2 separate regions of the Homo sapiens genome follow, and region 2 is linked to region 1. Evidence: promoter capture Hi-C in 16 types of primary human blood cells and fetal thymus (Javierre and others, 2016). All regions are on one chromosome and are shown on one strand. The core of a region is centred on a gene start or on the middle of the fragment in contact, and the rest is flanking DNA. Distances in the headings are between cores, read along the strand shown.

Region 1 (4,715 bases), core at 301-2,800:
CTCAGGGGGCACTTGAAATTGTAACTACCCCAGGCCTTTGGAAACAACCCTCAACCTTGAAAGGGGAAATTCCCAGTGGGAATTGATGCAAACTGTGGTCAGTTACACAAAAAGGTAGAGTTTACTGTAATCTGGGGGCTATTTTTGGTTGCAGAAAGAATCCCCGGAGTAGAGAAGGAGGCCAGCGAGTCTCAGTTCGCTGCTCGCTCAGAGCCGCCCAGGTGCGAGGGCGTCTTCACCAGAAATCGGTGCTCCCGCGCGCCCCACCCTCCGGGGCCCTGCAGATGCCGGGTCGGGGGCCGCCAGCAGGCCCTTTGGCTCCTGCTGGAGACACTGGAAGACCAGGCGACCAGGACAGCGGGTCGGGCCAGTGCGGTGTGACACGAGGGCTCGAGCGGCTTCGCAGTTTAAACGTGTCCTCATCCTACACCTCCCACGGCTGTTTCGGATTCGGTGCCCTCGTGCCCCTCAGCTTGCCCAGCGGCACGTGGGCCTCAAGCCTGGTCCCCAGCGGCTGCGCCAGCCTAGCTGTGTTCACCTTGGGGCCGCGAGGGCCTCCCACCGGCTGGCAGCTGGTGGACACGCTGTCAAGATCGGGGGAAAAAAAGGAAGGAAGGAGGCTAGGGGGACACAGGGCTGGTGGCCTCCGCAGTCTTTGACCTGCGACGGGCGCGAGCGCACCTCCGCGCCTTTGCGCAGAGACCTTCCCCCAAGATTGGCTCACGACGCCTCCTACCCCGAAGTCAAGGGCTCCCTGTGGCAAATCCTCACACGCCCTCCTCCTCCCCGCCCATCCCCGGCGCCAGGACTGACGGGGAGAGGGCAAGGCCGGGCCAGAGGGGCTGTGGGCCTGGACTGCGGCTGTCGCCCGCGGCCCTGCTCTTTTGGGCAGCCAGACGTGGGGTCAGCGCCCAGTCGCAGCCTCCGGGGGTGAGTCCGCAGATCCCCGCACGTGACACAGGCCAGGCATGGGGACGGGGAGTTCCTCGTCGTCCGTTCCCACTCAGATGCTCCCTGAGGTTCCGGAACACCCCGCCCCCCATCCCAGGATCTGACCAACCCTCAAGCCACGGCCGGCCCCGGTTCCGCGAGACGGGGGACTCTGAGGATTGTCCTCCCTTCCGGGCTGGGACTCCCCCACAGCAGCCGACCGCCCCCAGTTCAGAGTGGCCCGGCCCGCAGCGCTCCCCGGGCACAGGTCCCAGGTGGACGGCTCCGCTCCCGCGCCCGGCTCCTCTGCCCGCCAAGCGCCCCGGGGATTCCCCGGCCTCCAAGCGGCCGCGGCCGGGTGGAGTCAGCCCCGAAGCCCGGGATCCCCCGAAGGGAGAAAACCCGCTCTGCTCCTCTGAAGCGGCGGGAGAAACCGGCCCCACCCAGGTCCGGGGGCCCGACGCCCTCGGCGGAGGCCGGCTCCAGGGGTCCGAGGTTCCCGAAGCTGGAGGCCGGCTCCGCCCCGGCGTCCCCCCGCCGCCACCTCCGCCCCCATCCCGCGGGCCGGCGGAGGGAGGGGCGGGGCCGCTTGCCGCCCGCGACTCGGGTTCGGCTTCTTTAGTGATTGCTTCTGCTTCTCCCGCGCCAGCTGTCCCCAGCTCTGGGGCAACGCTGCCAGGTGCCCAGTCCCCGCGCTCGAGAGAGCGCCTGCCTGGCTCTGAACTCTGGCCAGGAAGGGGCGCGAGGGGAAGGCCCCGGGGGAAGGCGTGTCCCCGCGCCCCGCCCCGCCCCGCCTCGGAAAGCCCCCGCGGTCCCGCCCACCCCAGGGGCTCGCTCAGCCTCCGGAGACTTTTTTCTTTGAGCGCAGCCGCCTGGTGCCGGTTTCCGCCGAGCTGGAGCGCGCGGGCCACGGCTTCTCTGGGGACGCAGAAGCGAGAAGCGGGGACCTCGGCGCGCGCCCCGCGTCCCGCTCTTCCTGCCCGCGCCCCGGCCCCCGGCCCGCGCCCCGGCCGCCGGCATGGTGCTGCTGGCCGGGACCGGGCCGGAGGGCGGCGGGGCGCGCTGCATGACCCCACCACCGCCGTCCCCACCCCGGGGCGCGCAGGTCGAGGAGGACCCCGCTGACTACGAAGAGTTTGAGGACTTCTCGAGTCTGCCAGACACCCGCAGCATCGCCTCGGACGACTCTTTCTACCCTTTCGAGGACGAGGAGGAGCACGGCGTCGAGAGCGCGGAGAGCGTCCCGGAGGGCGTCCCGGAAAGCGTCCCGGAGACGGCGACCCTCCTGCGCGCCGCCTGCGCCAACAACGTGGGGCTGCTGCGGACGCTGGTGCGGCGCGGGGTGAGCGTCGAGGAGGCGCAGGAGACTGACCGCAACGGCAGGGTAAGCGGGCGTCCCCGCAGGATTTGAGCCCCCTCACTGCCCCCACTCCCCTCCTCCCCACCACATCCCCGCGCCTCCCAGCTCCTGGCTCCGGACCGGTCCCTCGGTCACTCAGCCGCCGCCCAGAGCGCCTTTTCCCCGCTGTTTGGGAGCGCGGTGCCCTGGGTGGCTTCCCCGTCTCAGGCTGGGGGACGCGGTGCGGGGAGGGAGCAGTCGAGGTGTCAGCGCGGCAGAAACGCCAGTCCGGCGTCCTCACCGCATCCCCTTCTCGTTTACCGGTCCCCGTGGACCTCCTGACTGAATTCGCGCTGGCTGCCCGTGCTGCAATCCAGGATGGGCTTCTTGCGGCCCGGTCCCCTCCTGACTATTACCTTTCCCCAGGTCCCTGGCAGGGGACCATTCCTCCTCCCCTGCAGGAGACAGCCCCTCCTGCCCAGCGCCCCATTTGGCCCCTGGGCCCCTCGCGCCGCCCTTGTCCTAACACGCTGGGGCGCAGATCGGCTCCTCCAGCCGCAATGATTTGGAAGCAACAGTTTCTTCCCTCGCCGGGACAGCTTGGTCCCCTACCCCACCTCCGCTGAGCTTTGTGGCCCGCGCCGCGACCAGCCAACGTGATCTCTGACTGGTCTGTCCGCAGGTCACCTTCGCGAGCCAATGCCAGCCGGGGCTCCCCAGAGTCAGGGCATAGGGAGAGCCCCAGAGCCGCGGGCATCCACCCGGGTAGGGCAGGAGGCGTGGAGGCAGGCACAGGCTATCCTTTCGTTATGACCAGATTCAGAGAAAACGAGATGTTTAGAAAAGAAAAGAAAAGAAAGGAAAAGAAAAAAAGTTGGCTTAAGAAGACCTGAGAAGGACTGGCTGGTGGAACACCTTCCACCAAGCAAAGCACTTCAAGGGAAAACTGCAGAGTGACCACGGTGGCCAAGTTCCCCGTAGTCTGTGCTCAGTGGGCAAATGGCAGCGTTCTCACCTGATTTTTGTATTGTCCAAGGACCGTGGTATCTGCAGATGCAGCCTAGCACAAATGCACATGCTTTTTGCTCAGGAGCCTGCAGCTGACAGAAAACATGTGCTTTGACTTGGGGACCCGGGTGACCTTGTGCCTTTGGTTTATCCTGCAGTGGGTGGGGCAAGTGGTTTGCCCTGACTGTGGTTTGGGCTGGGCTTAGGTGGATGGGAAGCCCTCCAATGTCACTCTCCCCTTGTACTACATTGCCCCCGTGATTCAATTACCTCCCACCGTGTCCCTCCCACAACACGTGGGAATTCAAGATGAGATTTGGGTGGGGACACAGCCAAACCATATCACACAACATTTGAACTTGGAGGAAGGGTCTGTGCTTGTCATATGTTAGGCAGTGAGACCTGAGGTGGCGTCCCCGTAGGTAGCATCACCTGGAGCCCTGTAGTTCCTGCTGCCATTCCTCTTGCAATGCCTCCTCCCCCAGCCCTGGCGACAGATGCCCTGGCTGGCATGTGATTAGGGCTTGGAGCTCCACCCGAAGTCCTAGGGCCTGTTTCTCAAGTTCTACATTTGGTTTAACTGAGTTTTCAGGCCCAGATGTGTGTAATCAGAAACCTTGCTTTCTGGAAGCCAGTATGGGGGCCCGCTTTAAAGGAAGCCTCACCAAGCTCATAAAGGAACAGGTGGGGTGGGCCTCTCCCCCTGTCCTGGGCAGCCTGGTGGTCTCCAGTGGGCTGGAATGGGCACAGGAGGGGCCTGGCTCGCCCAGTCCCCACTCTAGGGCACCACTGGGCTCAGCTTTATATAATGTTTCCTTTAGGGGCAAAACATAAATGTTTGAAAACAGCTGCATTGAAGAAAACTGACAGCAACGTAAACCATCCCCAGGGGCTCGAGCCTAACAGACTGAGTCTCCAGGCCACACAGCAGAGAGGCAGGGGAGGGCCGTGGTATGGGAGGCTAGCTCCAGCCTCCCAGCAGCTCTCTGCCTCAGTTTCCTCGTCTGTAAAATAGGGATAAGGGCAGCCTCTCCTCTTAGGATGTGAGCATAAAATGGCTTAGTGCCCACAAGGCTCTGGGAAGGCCTGGCCCCAGGCTTGTGTTTACCATCGTGTTTCTCATTCGTCTGCCTTCTCTTGGCTTGGAAGAGAGCACCTTCCAGTTTTATTTTGTTTTGTTTTGTTTTTTGTCTTCTGCCAGGCAAGGCTTTTTCTCTCGCTGCTTTTCTTCCCCTTTGATTACAGCAGAAGTGAAGACTTTGTTTCTCTGTGTCACGTAAAATAATGATGTAGGCCCGGACATAGCCTGCTAACTTAGAGACCCTTGGACTCTTTCATCTTTGGATCAGACGGAGCAGGGCTTGTGTTCTGTGCTTTGTGAGGCCAGTGGGGGGAGCGAGGCAGGAGCCTCCATTCTTTTCATTAGCTTCTCAAGGCT
Region 2 (4,640 bases), core at 1,508-4,007, 72 kb before region 1:
ACTGCACTCCAGGGGGGTGACAGAGCGAGACCACTGTCTCAAAATAAATAAACAAGGAGTGCCACTTATTGTCACATTTGGATTTGTTTCTAACATCGTGCTGAGTTTGGTCACCCACCTCAATCACCTGATGTGACTTGAAACCACTTCTGGCTATTTCCAAAAATCAGCTCCGCACTGGGAGGGGTTAGGGCTGCCCTTTAAGGAAACATTAAAAGCTCAGTATCTTCCTTTGGTGGCTCCTTCAGGGGCGCTAGCTTCTGACTCATCAGCATCATTTTAGCTCTCTGAGGGTTCAGAAATAGAGGAAACAGCACTTCCTTTTGGTGAACGCCTTTGTATTATTTTATTTTTTCACCATGATACTGAAACTAGCTCATCCTGGGAGAGTCAAAGGAAGCTCATATGTTTTCCCTGAGCTGGGCTAAATTCCTGATTCTTCTAATAGGAAAGATCCAAAACTTCCCACGGAGTTTCCCCTCGTCTGCACTGAGTCACATACCTGTGGGCTTCGAGCTAACAGACCTTTTTTAATCAAAGAGAAGATGAAAAAGGCACCTTGCTTCTGTCCCATTTTTAGATCTTTTTTAGCCCCATTTCTTCTCTTTCCTTCCTCCATTTTTGGGTTTGTTTGGTTTCACGCCTGAATTAAATGTTAACAGGAGGAGCAAGTTTTATACATTGCCTGAAGTCATCATTGTCAGAGAAACAAATGCAATCTTTAGTGAGGCTAGCAATGGTGGGAAGAAGACGCGTGGGTTACAGCAAGCACAGTTACTAAAGCTTTTTGCATTGAGTAGCTGTGGGGTCCAGGGCTCCATCTCTCTGGCCCTCACTTGCTCATGAGCAAATAGAGGCTTCAGGTTGTAGCAGGTTGTCTCAAACTAGGGACGTATATTCAACAAACCTGCACCTTATTCAAATGTAGATTCTGATCCTTAGGTTCTGGGTGGGGCCTGAGATCCTGCACCTCTAACAAGCTCCCAGATGACAAGCATCCAAGATCACACTTTTCCTAGCTCTGGATCACACTTTTCCTAGCTCCTAGCAGAATCTCAGGCTCATCCCAGCCTCTTGAGCCAGAATTCAAATTTTCACAAGAGCCCCGATTCGTTCAGATGTGCATTAAAGTGTGAGAAGCCCACACTGGATCACTGAGGGAGGTCGCAGTTGCACCTGGGGAACCAGGAACCGTGGAGGCATGAGCCCATCCTGGAGACCCTGATTTAGTTGGTGGGGAGTGGCCTGGACATCGATTGCTGCCTATTCACAGTGGTTCTTGATTTTGCTGCCATTAACATCACCTGGGGAGCTCTGAAAGGCGTCCCCGTGATGTTAATAGGCAGCAAGATCGGGAACTACTAGGCTGCGGGTTCCTCAGGTTCTAATCTATGATGTCATTGGCTTTATCAGGGCAATTTTTCCTGGCCACATTAGGCAGGAGAGGTGCCTGTGCATCTCAGAAGTGTCTATGGAACTCTGCTTCTGAACTTCCCAGCACGCTCAAAACAGGACCTGGTTTACAGCAAAGGGCCAGCTCCTGGCAACATCATGAAACAAACGTACACTATCCTCTACCCAGGGTTCCCTTCAGCCTATAGGTGCCCGACGGCCCCTGCTCTGTGCTCCATCCTGACATCAGGAAACCCACGAATGGGAGAAAATCTCATGTCACCTGTTTACAGGTGAGTGAACATTTAAGTCAATGGGTTGCTCTCTCCTGGGGAGCTCTAATTGTAGAATTTAAGAGGGCAGAGTGAAGCCAGTGGGAGTCCTGCCAGGTTTGAGTCACAGCTTGGCCACTTATGAGTCCCTCTCATTACCCCACCAGAGCCCGGCGTCCTGATGCATAACACCCACCACCCGGCTTAGGGAGGGCTGACAGAGTGAATTACTGACAGAGGATGGCCCTTGGCCATTTCTGCTTCCTTCACTTTCCCATCACTGCCTTAGAATCTGGAGAGACTCATGCTGGCTTCACCTGGACAGGCATCCTGACACGCAAGCGAGGATTGCTCCCACCAATTTTCTGCGAGAGAAACAGGGGTTCGGTTGATTCCTGGCAACACGTTCGTGTGGGGATGCACGTGGGGGTGCAGAGCTGGACTTGGGAGATGCTTCAGCTGATAGCACACTTTTCCTTTGGGGAGTTTTCTTCCTGCTGTTATAACACCTGTCTCCAAACAAAGCCTTCATTGGTCAACAGTGAATGATTCATTTATTCTGTGCATAGACCTATGGCGTGAGATGCATTTGGAAACCTTGAGAACAGCGGTTCCCAACCTTGGTGCTTGGAGTAATGTCCGAGGACATTTTTGGTTGTCACAACTGGGGCAGGGAACTGTTGCTGGCGTCTAGTGGGTGGGGTCCAGGGGTACTGCTAAACGTCCTGCAGGGCAGAGGCTAGTGCCACCGCAGAGAATGATCCAGTGCAAATGTCGCTGGTGCTGAGAATCCTACTTCAGACCCAGGGCAAGACTGATTGCATGTGTTCATTTATATCTGCTCTTGTAGTCATTCAGTCAAGAAATGAGCACCTTGAATGACTATTAAATCAAGACAGGTTGGGTGTGGTGGCTCACACCTGCAATCCCAGCACTTTGGGAGGCCGAGGCAGGTGGATCACTTGAGGTTAGGAGTTTGAGACCACCCTGGCCAACATGGCGAAACCCTGTCTCTACTAAAAATACAAAAATTAGCAGGGCATGGTGGTGCATGCTTGTGATCCCAGCTAATTGGAAGGCTGGCGCACGATAATCACTTGAACCTGGGAGGAAGAGGTTGCAATGAGCAGAGATTGCACCGCTGTACTCCAGGGTGACAGAGCAAGACTGTCTAAAAAAAATCAAGACAGATCTCTGAGACTCCACAGGTCAATGGAAGATGAACAGAGGGGCGGTGGGGCTGCCCCCCACCCATGTGGGAGGCATGGGCAATGCCTAGGTTGACCAGCTGCCCATGCTCTGAGGCAGTAGTCTCAGGGCAGGGTGTGCACCCTCCCAGGCAGGGCAGCACTCACTTATGGTACAGAAGGAATCTTAGAGCTTCCCTTACTCAGGAATGAAATGAGCTCTAGCCCCTGCCATCACCTTTTGCTCAACACTCACCCACTCCAGGCTTCAAAAGGAGGCTGCCCACATGGACAGCTCAGAGGGACTCCAGGGCACGTGGTTGATGGAGAAGCCAGATGCAGAGTGGTTCACTTGGGGGTGCAGTTCAGGAAGCCACGGGGTGGGTGTGAGGGTGTAGTGGAGCGTATCAGTGCAAGGATACCCTGAGACTGGGGGTGACATTGACTCCACAGGCACGGGAAGGAGCTTGGAAACAGACTGAACTCAGAACATGCATGTCACGAGGGGAGGGGCTGGAGGCTTGGGGTTGGGAGAGGCTGCCTCCACTGCTGAGGGCACAACTTCCTGGTTCAGCCCCGGCAGGCCTGCAGATCCCCCTGCATCCTTTCCCTGAAGATGGGCCATCTGTGCCTAGACAGGTTGGCATGTGTATTAGATTCTTAGGGCTGCCACAGCAAAGAACCACAGACTGGGGGGCTTAAATAACACAAGTGTATTTTCTCACAGTCTAGGAGGCTGGAATTGCAAGGAGCTCAGGGTGTCAGCAGGGCTGGTTTCTCCTGAGGCCCCTCTCCTTGGCTTGCAGGTGGCCGCCTTCCCATGGTGTCCTCACATGGCCTCTCCTCTGATGTGCCTTCCTCTTCTTAGAAGGATACCAGTCCTATTGGATTAGGGTCTGCCCTAAATAACTCATTAGGACATAATTACCTCTTTAAAGATCTTAACTCCAAATATAGTTTTATTCCGGGGTTCTGGGGGTTAGAGCTTCAACATGTTGATTTTGGGGGACACACTTCATCCCATAACAGTGTGGGCTGCCATTCTCCACTGGCCCTCTATCCTGGAGACACACCTCCTAGAGAGTTTCCTACAACATGCAGGACATCTAGTTAAATTTGATTAAATTGTATTTCAAATGCTGCATGGGATACACTTACCCAAAAAATTATCATTGATCTGAAATTTACATTTAACCCAGCATTCTATATTTCTAGCTGCTGAGTCTGGCACCTCTACCCACTGGGAAACCTCCTACTCATGGCTCCTTACCTGGGCTGCCTTGGTCTGGGACGGACACAGAAAGGTGGAGGGTGGAATTGGTGTCTGGAGGAGCAGCTGGTATCTGGGAATCCATCAAGGGCCCTGGCCTCATGGCTCTTTCAGGACAACCTATAGAAGCCACTGAGATGCTGGGGTGGCCTGTGGTTTGATAGAAACCGCAGCATCTATTTAGGTGAATCCTGGAGGTACTTCCTGTTTCTCTTCCAGTTTTCACATCTCTGTAGAATGGGAAATGTCACACAATAACGAACCACTAACAAATGATCCAATTTCCAGTTGCAGAAAACACATGACGTCATGCACATCATGGTGTTGAAAATATGGGTGCCCAATCCCTTACCCACAATTCTGAAATCCAAAACACTCTGGGAACATTTTTTATGTGTAAATTTGAAGACAAAACCCATTTGGGGATAAAATTGATTTGAATGGACTTGGGACTATTTATAGACTTTCTTTATCCATTGGTGAGAATAGTGATACTGTGTTTTCTGGGGGGCACTGTCC

What was found. Contacts are between HindIII fragments. The CHiCAGO score rates a contact against its expected background, and 5 or more counts as called.
Region 2: a contact is called between a fragment that was not itself captured here and the fragment with the promoter of ANKRD33B in region 1, in 6 of 17 cell types (neutrophils, total B cells, naive B cells and 3 more). The highest score is 11.5, in neutrophils.

The regions. Positions count from the first base shown.
Region 1 is chr5:10,562,520-10,567,234 of GRCh38, forward strand. ANKRD33B (ankyrin repeat domain 33B) reads left to right here and starts at 1,551. Exons shown (of 4, transcript NM_001164440.2): 1 at 1,551-2,314. The coding sequence starts at 1,949. RefSeq lists silencers at 1,135-1,994, 2,335-2,384, 3,355-3,404 and enhancers at 1,614-2,508, 2,509-3,402, 2,525-2,734, 3,055-3,104, 3,125-3,214 and 3 more. The HindIII fragment of the contact is 7,834 bases long and covers 1-4,715 here.
Region 2 is chr5:10,489,742-10,494,381 of GRCh38, forward strand. LINC02212 (long intergenic non-protein coding RNA 2212) reads right to left here. Exons shown (of 3, transcript NR_104606.1): 3 at 3,786-4,351. Among named protein-coding and RNA genes, the nearest start is that of LINC02212, 11 kb to the right of the region's middle. RefSeq lists an enhancer at 339-388. The HindIII fragment of the contact is 3,953 bases long and covers 782-4,640 here.